Linked DNA regions of Homo sapiens: all the other regions are linked to region 3. Evidence: promoter capture Hi-C in 16 types of primary human blood cells and fetal thymus (Javierre and others, 2016). All regions are on one chromosome and are shown on one strand. The core of a region is centred on a gene start or on the middle of the fragment in contact, and the rest is flanking DNA. Distances in the headings are between cores, read along the strand shown.

Region 1 (3,977 bases), core at 137-2,636, 2.1 Mb before region 3:
CTACTCAAACAGTGCTTTGGATGTAGGCAGCTAGTTTAGAAAAGAATTTCCCAAATTTGTAAGATCATAAGAGCTCCCCTGCAGTGCTTGTTAAAAACAGATCATTTTCAGGCCAGGCACTGTGGCTCATGCCTGTAATCCTAGCACTCTAGGAGGCCCGGGTGGGTGGATTGCTTGAGCTCAGGAGTTCCAGATCAGCCTGGGCAACATAGTCAAACTCGTCTCTACTAAAAATACAAAGTATTAGCCAGGCATGGTGGCGCACGCCAATAGTGCCAGCCACTTAGGAGGCTGAGGTGGGAGAATCACCTGAGCCCAGGAGATCGAGACTGCAGAGATTGTGCCACTGCACTCCAGCCTAGGCAACCAGAGTGAGACCCTGTCTCAAAACAACAACAACAACAACAAAACACAGATCATTTTCATAGAGATTTGGATTCAATAGGTCCATTCTGGAATTTGTATTTTCAACACGTTTGACAAATGCTGGCTAAGTAGTTCACTACAATGGCTCTTGAGTTGAAGAGACACTAATTTGGTTACTCGCAGCTTTACTACCTCTCTAGATGTGTGTCACCTTGTGCAAGTTCGTTCATCTCTCTGAGCGTCAGTTTCCCCAAATGACGGATGCAGCTAATAACAGCACCACCTCCTAGGGCTGTAGTGGGGATTAAGTGAGCAGCGTGCAAAGTGCTTAGCGCCCTGCCTGGTGCATAGCAAGCAAAGATAATAACAGAAAGATGGTGGCAGCCACTGGGAAGTTCAGGCTGAGACAGTCTTCCAAGACGTCCACCTTTTCATCTTTTTTTTTTTTTTTTTTGTATTGGCAAGGTCTCTCGCCGTGTTGCCCAGGCTGGTCTCCAACACCTGGACTCAAGCGATCCTCCCTCCTTGGCCTCCCAAAGAGCTGGGGTTACAGGCGTAAGCCACCCCAGTGGCTCCTTCTGACTTTATGATAGAGTTGTCAGATAAAAAAAAATCAGGACGCTTCCATTCAAACCTGCAAAAAGAGAAAAATTTAAAAAAATTAGGACGCCCAGTTCAATTGGAATTTCAGATAATGAAAAAAAAATTTAACGTAAGTAGCTCCCAAATACTGCATAGGACATATTTATACCAAGTCAGTCATTCTTTAAAAAAAAAAATCTGAAATTCCAATTTAACCGGGAGTCCTGCATTTTTACTTGTTAAATCTAGTAACTCTGCCTTTAGGGAAGGACTGACCCCAAAGCCTTATCCCCGCCCACGCGTGCCCTAGACAGTCTCCACTCGCCAGGCGCGCAGGTCGATCCCAGAGGGGCCGCTGGCGCCTCCGCTCCGCCCAGGCAGCACTAGTGGCGCCCCGAGCCACCGGGCCCCTCCCCGTCCCGCCCCAGTCCCGCCCCGAGATCAAAGGGCGTCGCCCAAAGCGGGACAGGTCCAGCGGTTGTTCTGTGTGAAGTCGCGCGGCTTCCACCCACGCAGTGTTCTAAGTGAAGGCCAGAAACTCGCTCGCCATGTCGGCTGCAGAGGCGGGGGGTGTTTTCCACAGAGCCAGGGGCAGGACCCTGGCCGCGTTTCCCGCAGGTACTGCCCGCCCCTCACCCGGGGAGGGGACTCTGGGGCTGCGGAACCTTCCGCCGGGGGAACCTTTTGTTCAGGTGTGCGCTCCGCCAGTCGGACACCATCCGGGGCTGCACCGGGGCCTGGGAGCCGCCATAGCTGCATCAAAGCCTGCTCTTAGGGATTCCAGGGGCGCAGTTGAGAGGCGAGGCCGAGAGAGCGATCTGGTCTAGGAGCCTCCTTGGCCTTGACCTAACTTCCCCCAGAGAAGGGAAGTAAGAGGAGGGTAGCAAAGCATAGTTAATGACAGCTTGGACTCTGCAGCGAGACCTGGTTTCCAAGCTGTGCATTAGCATCTTGGCCTCAGCTTCCACATCTGTGAAACGGGAATACTTGTGGGTGTTACTGGATAAGCGTTCGGTGCATGTTAGAGGGTGTCGGTTTTATTAAGGTTGTTCACCGTTATGTATTCTGTACTCCATAATGACGTTTATTTAAGTCATTCACCGAAATGGTAACACTGCCCCATCAGAGCAGTAGAGAGGGAGGGCATTCGAGAGTCGTAGTGAAGTGCTTGGATTTTGGATTTAGATTATCTGCTTTGCCTTAAAAATGGGTTTGATAATACCTGCCTCATAGGGTTGTTGGAAGCGTAAACAGATCAAAAGTATTTTTGTAACCCGGTGTTGGACGCATGCTAGGTGCTAAGTAAAGAGGGAGGTTTGTTTCTGGTTTGTTGATTCCCCTCTGTGGCTTTTTGCTGCCTGCAGCCAGATCGCCTCCCAGGCTCTCACCAGCTTTATACCCCCAGGGAAGTCACCCTAAATGCCCTATATGATCAGGCTTGTGTCCACTTCCTTCAGGGTTGTCATTCTCTCTCTTGCCCAGTTCTGCAACAGGTTTTGTTGTTGCCCTTGTTTGAACTGCATTTAAAAGGGCCAAGGCCGTTCTTTCCCTGAGGGTCTTGGCGCTTGCTGTTTTCTGCTTCTTTAGCAGGGTTGGTGAGCCTGGCTCTCTCAACCGTCACACCTCATTTTAAAGTTCATTCACTTCCTCAGAGACTTTACCTGCTACCTTATCTAAAGTAGGTTTCTCCGGTAATTCTATGGTAAAACCTTATTTATTCATTTAAGGCGGAGTCTTGCTTTATTGCCCAGGCTGGAGTGCAGTGGCACGATCTTGGCTCACTGTAACCTCCGCCTCCCGGGTTCAAGCGATTCTCCTGCCTCAGCCTCTGGAGTAGCTGGAACTATAGGCACGCACCACCACGCCCGGCTAATTTTGTATTTTTAGTAGAGATGGGGTTTCTCCATGTTGGCCAGGCTGGTCTCGAACTCACAACATCAGGTGATCCGCCGTCCTCAGCCTCCTAAAGTGCTGGGATTACAGACCTGAGCCACCGCGCCCGGCCTGGGACGACTGTATTTTAATGGACCTTGTCTTTTTTGTCCAACATGAAGATTTTGCTCTTTTCTTGCTGGGCAACATTCCATTGGATGATTATATACCTTATACATTCTGTTGATGTATATGCTGAATATCTTCCCTTTGCCTCTCCAAACCTTTCTCCCTTCCCCACCATGCCCCAGGGGTTTGCCCTCCGTGAGCTACATCGGTGGGCTCCTTGCCTTTTGGTTTTCCTTTGGGCTCAGCCAGTGGGGAGCCCTGAGAAGAAATCAGAGCAGGGAGAGAAGCAAAAGGCAGCTGTATTTATTCTTGCAGTTTACTCTGTGGGGTTGCCTCGCCTGGCTGTCTTCCTCCCCACCCCTGAAGGTCAAGGTCGCTCCTTTTCTCAGGACAGCTTTTCTCCTCATTCTCTCTAGTTCTGGATTTGAGTAACCATTTCCTCCTTTGAGGCGTGGGAGTGGCAGTGGTTCTGCTTTTCTAACCTTGGGTTACCACACTCCCTTGTAGGTTTCGTCCACCCAACCCCCACCAAGTAATCCCTTTTTAAACCCTTTTTAAAATCATCCTAATTTGAGAATGCCAACTATTTCCTGCAAGGATCCTGACTAATACAATGGCCATTTAGTTGTTTCTGGTTTTTGCCCTTGGTAACAGTGCTGTTATGAACATTCTGTACAAATCTCTTTGTGGACACATGGGAGAGTTACTCTGAGGCATATACCTACAAGCTATGTTCTGGGTTATAGGGTATAATCATCCCCAGCATTACTAGATGTGGTCAAACTGCCTTCCAAAGTGGTAGTGCCAATTTATACTCCCACCAGCAGTATATGAGAGTTCCCTGTTACTCTGCTGTATTATTTTTTTTTTCAGTTCAAGAAATATTTGTTGTGGGCTGGCTGCGGTGGCTCACGCCTATATATTTGTTGAGGGCCGGCCGCGGTGGCTCACGCCTGTAATCCCAGCACTTTGGGAGACTGAGGCGGGTGGATCACCTGAGGTCAGGAGTTCGAGACCAGCATGGTCAA
Region 2 (3,754 bases), core at 235-2,734, 2.2 Mb after region 3:
CCTCCTTCCCCCACAAATCCCCGCGGACTAAGCTTGGGGCCTGGCTGTTATCCTAGTACCTGTGTGCTTATGTCCGTGTGTGTCCGTGTGGCCTGGAGGAGCCCGAGGGAGTGCCAAACCGCTTCGCGAGAAATAAAAACGATCCTTTAATCACACACAGAGCTTTACAGATTGCAAAGTCCTCACGCCCCCTCCGACTTCATTTCCTCCTCACCCATGTCCCTTGGATCAGCTCCTTGGTGGGTCTGGGAAAGGGAGAGGGTGCCCTACCTCCTGGGCCCTGTAATGCGTTCAGCTCTCTCTGGGGAGCTCTGGCCTGGAGTTCCTTTTGCTCTAAAATAACTCTGGCATGACATGGGCTTTCTACGGGGTCAGGTTAGGTCTACAATATGAAGCTGCGAGACTCCCAAGGGGTTGGCCAATTGATAGAGCACTCTTCAAGACTAATCATACCTTTTCCGTCCTCCCCCAGAAAAATCCATCCCTCCTTTCATCCTGGTGTTCTGCCCCTGGGAATGGGCTCCCCATCCGGGTCCCCTGGGGCAGTGCTGTTCACATTTAGCGCGCCCCAGACTCTATGGGCTTGTTGATACTCTCGGGCTGATGCCACCCCCAGGGTGTCTGAGCCAGGAGGCCTGGGTGAAGCCCAAAAACTCACATTTCTAAGTGGCTTCCAGGCGATGCCGAGGCTTCTGGCCCAGAGCCACTGTTTGCATAAATGCCGAGGTGGGGCGTTTATTAAGTGACAGAGAAGGGTTGTCATCTTGCTGCTCTTAGAATCACCTGGGTATCTTCCAAAAATCCTGCTGCTGTCTACATCCTTGATCTGATATTCTCTAGGGCTGGTGTCCAGGCATCAGTGTTTTTTAAGAGCTCTCCAGCCTATTCTAACCCAAAACCATGGCTGAGATTCTGTTCCTGCAAGATTCCAAGTCATGAGATGTAGGGGAGGGCCCGAGGAGCCTTTGGCTTAGGAAACTCTGGGAGGTGCTGATGGTTTGGGGAATACTGGTGTGGATTAAAAGATGACAACACGATTATCAACAATATGGCATCATCGTCTTCATCATGACATCATCATCACCATGACGTCAACACTGTCATCATCATAGCTGACACCCACTGAGTACTTTCTATGCACCTGTGCTATTCTCCATGCCAGTCGGTCAGTCAGTCATTCAACAAACATCATGACATCATCACCACCATGCCATGACATCACCACCACAACGACATGACACCACCATGACATCAGCATTGTCATCATTATAGCTGACATCCACATCTATGCACCTGTGCTATTCTCCACGCCAGTCGGTCAGTCAGTCATTCAACAAACACTCAAAGGAAGGCCAGTACACACCAGCAACTGGGGGGGCAATGACTCCTCCAGACCCAGACCTTGCTCTCTGGGGTGCCACATGATTGAGGAGAGAGAGGCATATGAAATACGTAGCCCGTGGTGAGGACTAGGAGATAAGCAAAGCAGGGTACAGATGAGGAAACTGAGGCACTGGCAGGTTAACATAACTGGACTAAGGGCATAAGGAGAGAAAGGGACGCAACTGGGAGTAAACTTCAGAACTGCCTGATCCCAAGATGGTCCTCCCCCTACTTCCACCAACGCCTGCACTTCTTTACTGGCTGTCTGCTCCTTTCAGGACGTTGCTGCGACGTCCCTGTCTAATCCGGAAAGGCGCAAAAGGAGTGGGTTACTCACATGGCCACATGGGGCTAAATGAGCGCTGTTGGAAAATCAGTTACAATGCTGGGGAAAACAAAGTTTTTGCAAAGTGAGGGCAACCATGCTACCGAAAGGGCGGTCTCTGCTTCCACCTGCTGGTCGTATTGTGGAACTGCTCCAGAGGCAGGATTTGATCCCCAAATTCGTCAAGAGACACGTTTTCAGCCCTCCTAGCGCCCAAGTGCTGGATTAAATACTGCAGGGCCAGAGTTCTCAGCTGGGGCGATTCTCTCCCCCACCTGACATTTGGCAGTGTTTGGAGACAGTTTTGGTTGTTCTTAGTGCGTGTGGGGAGTGGTATTACCGGCAGCTCCAGTGGGAAGAGGCCAGGGATGCTCCTCGCATCCTATGATGCTCAGGACATCTGGTCCCACACGTCCACCTTGGGACATGCTGAGACACTCTGCTAAGCGAGCAATAATGGACAATAACAAACCAAAACATGTGTGCACCTCAGGAACTGACAACACAGAATAAGCTCATTCATTCGCCCATCCATTCATGCATTTGATAAATGCTTGCCAGATACCTACAGTGTCAGAGACTGTTCCAGGGCCTGGGGACACATTCATGGGGGTGGCCAAGAAAATCTCCACCCTTCCTAGCTCACATGGGAACAGATGATAAACCCATGAACCAATAATCTATCTGAGAGATTCAGACAGTGATTAGTGTTATGAAGAAAACAAAACAGGGTGATGAGGCCGGGCGCCATGGCTCATGCCTGTAATCCCAGCACTTTGGGATGCCAAGACAGGCAGGTCACCTGAGGTCAGGAGTTCGAAACTAGCCTGGCCAACATGGTGAAACCCCATCTCTACTAAAAATACAAAAAAAAAAAAAATAGCCAGCTGTGGTAACACGCGCCTGTAATCCCAGCTACTTGGGAGGCTAAGGCAGGAGAATCACTTGAACCCAGGAGGTGGAGGTTACAGTGAGCCGAGATCGCACCATTGCGCTCCAGCCTGGGTGACAGAGTGAGACTCCATCTCAAAAAAAAAAAAAAAAAAAAACCAGGGTGATGGGATGAAAGGTGTCTGGTAGAGATGTGACTCCAGGAAGGACAATTAGAAAGGGCTTCTTGGAGGAGGTGACATTGTGCTGAGACCCGCATGAAGAACCTGTAGGTAGGGAAACTGCAGACCAGGCAGGTGACAGCAGACGCAAAGGCCCTGAGGTGGGAAGAAGCTTCTGTGTTAGAGGGAAATGAAGAGGGAGGGTTGATGGAGAGAAATAGGAGGTGAAGGTAGAGGCAGGGAGAGAGAAGGCAGTGGGCGATGCCCATGGCCCGTGGTAAGGAGGTGCTGATGATTAAGTGGGGTTGGGATGCTGTTCCATTCTGTTCTGTTCTGTTCTATCCTGATCCATTCTGATCTGTTCTATTCTGATCCATTCTGTTGTGTTCTGATCCATTCTGATCTGTTCTATTCTGATCCATTCTGTTGTGTTCTGATCCATTCTGATCTGTTCTCTTCTATTCTGATCCATCATTCTATTCTGACCTGTTCTGTTCTATTCTGATTTTTTTTTTTTTGAGACTGCGTCTAGCTCTGTCACCCAGGCTGGGGTGCAATGGCTCAATCTCGGCTCACTCCAACCTCTGCCTCCCAGGTGCAAGTGATTCTCCTGCCTCAGCCTCCCCAGTAGCTGGGACTACAGGCACGCACCACCATGCACCATGCCTGGCTAATTTTTTGTATTTTTAGTAGAAATGCGGTTTTACAGTGTTAGCCAGGATGGTCTCGATCTCCTGAGCTCATGATCCACCTACCTTGGCCTCCCAAAGTGCTGGGATTACAGGCGTGAGCCACCGTGCCTGGCCCGATCCATTCTGTTTCGATCTGTCCTGCCGTATTTTAATCCATTGGATTGGTTCTGTTCTATTCTGATCCATTTTGTTCTGATCTGTTCTGTTCCATTCTGTCTTGTCCTCTCCTCTTCTATTTTCTTATTCCACTTGGACTCTCTCTTGAGAGTGATATGCCTTTAAGACAGTGGTTCTCAACCCTG
Region 3 (3,805 bases), core at 442-2,941:
CCTCCACTGAGGCTCAGTTCAGTCTCTCCATTGCATTGACAGAGATAACTATTTTTCTCTTCATTTTTTTTTTTCTTTGAGACAGGGTCTCACTCTGTCACCCAGGCTGGAGTGCAGTGGCACGATCTCAGCTCACTGCAACCTCCACCTCCCGGGTTCAAGTGATCCTCCCACCTCAGCCTCGAGGGCGGGCATGCACCACCATGCTGGCTAATTTTTGTATTTTTAGTAGAGACAGGTTTCACCATGTTGGCCAGGCTGGTCTCGAACTCCTGACCTCAAGTGATCCATCCACCCGCCTCGGCCTCCCAAAGTGCTGGGATTACAGGCGTGAGCCACTGCACCCGGCCTGTCTCCATTTTTGATGAGGAACCAGAAGCTCAGAGAGGTTAGGACTATTGCTGAAGGTCACACCGCATGGATCCAAGAATCAAATCCAAGTCTCTCTCTGAACTCCTTCAAGATTCTCCCCCTTGGCCAGGTGCAGTGGCTCATGCCTGTAATCCCAGCACTTTGGGAGGCCCAGGCAGATGCATCACTTGAGGTCAGGAGTTCGAGACCAACCTGGTCAACATGGTGAAACTCTGGTTCTACTAAAAATATAAAAATTAGCCAGCCGTGGTGGCAGGCGCCTGTAGTCCCAGGTACTCGGGAGACTGAGGCACGAGAATCGCTTGAACCTGAGAGGTGAAAGTTGCAGTGAGCCGAGATCACACCACTGCACTCTGGTCTGGGCTACACAGCAAGACTCTGTCTAAAAAAAAAGGGGGAAAAAAAAGAAAAAAAAATATTGTCCTCCTGCCTCCTGCTTTTTAAGGTCCTTCTGAGCAGGCTCCCTGGGTCCTCTCATCCTGGAATCTGTGCTTCACAGCACTTAAAGCTGCGGTGGTTTAGTTGCTAGCTCACGTGTTTGTTTCCCCAGTAAAGCTAAACTCCACTAGAGCAGTGACCACGCCTGATCCCCAGCTGTGTCCCCAGGACAGCACCAAACCTACGAGGCGATCAACACATTTCTGCTGAATGAGTGGGAGAATCACTCCTCAAAAGGAAGAAAATTGTGTCAAGAAAGTAGCTGGCAGAGCCAGGATGTAAGTCCGAAGACTCCCCGACTTCGAAGCTTATCCCGTTTTTCTCTGCGGTCTGTTATTGTCACTCAAACCTCTGGCCCCGACCCTCTTAATTAATGTCCCTTTCGACTCCGCGCCGGTCAGTCTCCACCCTCCATCCGCGCCAGGTCCTTCGCGCTCGCCTTCTAAAGGCCTCGTTCCTGTCAGTCATTCCAAGCTCCGCCCTCACCCTGCCCACTTTCCACGCCCCGCCCCTTCTGGGCCCCACCCCTCTCCGAATACAATACCTTCTAGCCTGCCGCTGTCAGTCATTCTGCAGATCCCGCCCCCTCCCTCCCACGCCCCGCCTTTTCCGGGCCTGCGCCTCTAAGTTCCTGTTGAGGCCTTGCCCTTTTCTCACCCGTGTCCGGAGTGGCCCCCGCTCCAGAAGCGCACAGCCGCTGGTTGGGGCATCCCTGACATGAAGCCCCTCTGCCCGCCTGGGCGCTGTCGGCCCCTGGACAGTCTGCGCAGAGACAAGACCACAGTTAGAGCAGCTCCCGACACTTTCGCCCCGCGACCCACGCCCCCTCCGCGAGCTTACCGTGAGGCACCTCCTCCATTCCGTCGCCTTTGCCGCCTTCGTGGTCACCGGAACCCGCTGTCGTACATTTCCGCCTTGTGGGCACAATCTGATTCTCCGACCGCGCGAAATAAGTCTCGGAAAGGGGGCTGTGCGCACGCGCGAACCTTGGGCCGAAAGACTGGGACTCAACGTCTGTTCCTTTTCAGAGATTTCCTATCATAAATACTTCTGCAGTGCATCTCCTAAGAACAAAGCCATTCTTCATGACATCAGTGCCATTTTCATACCCAAGAGATTTAATATCGATGCAGTACTAGCCAATGCAGTATTAGCCAATAGACAGTTTATATTTCAATTTCAGTTGTTAGACCCCCTCCCCTGCTGGATTCACTCACTGCCTGGAGTTATTTCTCTTCGGTCTCCTTTAATTCAGATCAGTCCTTCTTTTTTTAGGGGGGGTCTCATCACCTTGATAATTTTGACGGGTCCAGACCAGTTGTGTAATAGAATATCCCATATTCTTGATTTGTCTAATCCTCCCCTCCCTCTTGCCTTGTAATTAGATAAAGGTTAATTTTTCTTTTTTCCTGCAGAACACACTTGGATAATGTCAGTTTGTCCCGTTTTTGGTAATGTGAAGCTTGATCGCTTGCTAAAGGTGGTGTCTGCCCCATTTCTCCATTTAATGTTTCCTTCTTCCATTTGTAATTAACAGGTACTCTCTGGGACCATCTTCTTCTCTATCAGCCTTTCACTCAGTGATTTTAGCAGCATTTATATATATATATATAAAACTATAGATTATATATATGATAAATATATATCAGTTTTATACCCTCTCTTTTTTTCTTTTTTTTCGAAGACTCACTATGGATTCCTGGATTTTTTAAAATTGTCTTTTATAATCAATTATTATTCTTTCTGGTCGATTTTTTTTCCCCCAGATGTGGCCAGTGAAGCCCCTTCAAGACAGTTCTTATGTTCTTTGGGCACTAATCCAGCTTCTTTGAGCATTTTCTTGCTTTCTGATACAAGATGTTTCAGTCATCCCTTCTCCCTGCTGCAGTCATTTCTTCAGGGAGCCTTGGTTACTTTTTAGCAGACAACAGTTCAGAAACCAAGATGTGGATGCCACAAATGCTCATTGCTACTGGAGTGTCATTGCTCACAGGTTTGGCACCTGGAATATTAATGAGTGAACAAACTTTACCTAGCCCCAGACACTAAGAATATGGAAACGTTTATTTATTTATTTATTTTTGAGGCGGATTCTCGCTCTGTCACCCAGGCTGGAGTGCAGTGGTGGGATCTCGGCTCACTGCAAGCTCCGCCTTCTGGGTTCACGTCATTCTCCTGCCTCAGCCACCCGAGTAGCTGAGACTACAGGCCACCACGCCCGGCTAATTTTTTGTATTTTTAGTAGAGACAGGGTTTCACCATGTTAGCCAGAATGGTCTCGATCTCCTGACCTCGTGATCTGCCCGCCTTGGCCTCCCAAAGTGTTGGGATTACAGGCATGAGCCACCGCACCCGGCCTCGGAAACATTTATTAAACAGCAGTGTATCAGCTGCCTGTCACTACCACTAATTATAGCCAGCATTTTGTAGAATACTTACCGTTTGGCAGCTGTCATCTTTGTGCTTTCATGTGAATTACCTAATTTATGTCCTTTCATAGTCCTACTGTCTCCATTTTTGGATAAGGAAACTGAGGCTTAAAGTAAACTACTTTCCCGAGGTCGCATGACTGGTAGCAGGGGAACCAGGGTGATAAACTTGGTCTGTCTGGCTGCAGAGCCTGCACTTAGTAACACATGGTCCCAGCCAGCACTGGGCTAGATGCCAATGATTCCAGACTAACCTGGACCCTGCCATCTGGAGCACAGTCTGGTCGGGAGAAGAGGACCAGAGTGATGGGGCATCAGCAAAGGCCTGGAGAGCAGAGAGGAAGTCACCTATCAGGTAGGGACTGTTGTCATTTCCGTTTTACAGGTGATAAGATGGCTGCAAAGATTTACTTGTCCACAGTCTGAGAGGCAGAAAGAGCAGAACTGGGTTTTTAACCAAGTCTGATACAGGGCCTTTGCTATTAATCACTATACTGTATATTAGAGGGCAGGATGCAAGTTATTCTCCTTTTTATTTTTATTTTTGTGGGATGGAATCTCACTCT

The links. Contacts are between HindIII fragments. The CHiCAGO score rates a contact against its expected background, and 5 or more counts as called.
Region 1: the fragment with the promoter of CPPED1 here is called in contact with the fragment with the promoter of NUBP1 in region 3 in 1 of 17 cell types (activated CD4 T cells); the score reaches 5.8 in activated CD4 T cells.
Region 2: a contact is called between a fragment that was not itself captured here and the fragment with the promoter of NUBP1 in region 3, in 1 of 17 cell types (total CD8 T cells). The highest score is 5.6, in total CD8 T cells.

The regions. Positions count from the first base shown.
Region 1 is chr16:12,801,296-12,805,272 of GRCh38, reverse strand. CPPED1 (calcineurin like phosphoesterase domain containing 1) reads left to right here and starts at 1,386. Exons shown (of 4, transcript NM_018340.3): 1 at 1,386-1,566. The coding sequence starts at 1,497. RefSeq lists a silencer at 1,305-1,354 and enhancers at 1,435-1,804, 3,127-3,206. The HindIII fragment of the contact is 13,841 bases long and covers 1-3,977 here.
Region 2 is chr16:8,565,901-8,569,654 of GRCh38, reverse strand. It overlaps TMEM114 (transmembrane protein 114), which reads left to right. Exons shown (of 4, transcript NM_001146336.2): 4 at 1-155. Among named protein-coding and RNA genes, the nearest start is that of TMEM114, 23 kb to the left of the region's middle. The HindIII fragment of the contact is 2,900 bases long and covers 35-2,934 here.
Region 3 is chr16:10,741,728-10,745,532 of GRCh38, reverse strand. It overlaps NUBP1 (NUBP iron-sulfur cluster assembly factor 1, cytosolic), which reads right to left and starts at 1,691. Exons shown (of 11, transcript NM_002484.4): 1 at 1,651-1,691; 2 at 1,468-1,572. The coding sequence starts at 1,669. RefSeq lists an enhancer at 1,833-1,882. The HindIII fragment of the contact is 1,155 bases long and covers 1,120-2,274 here.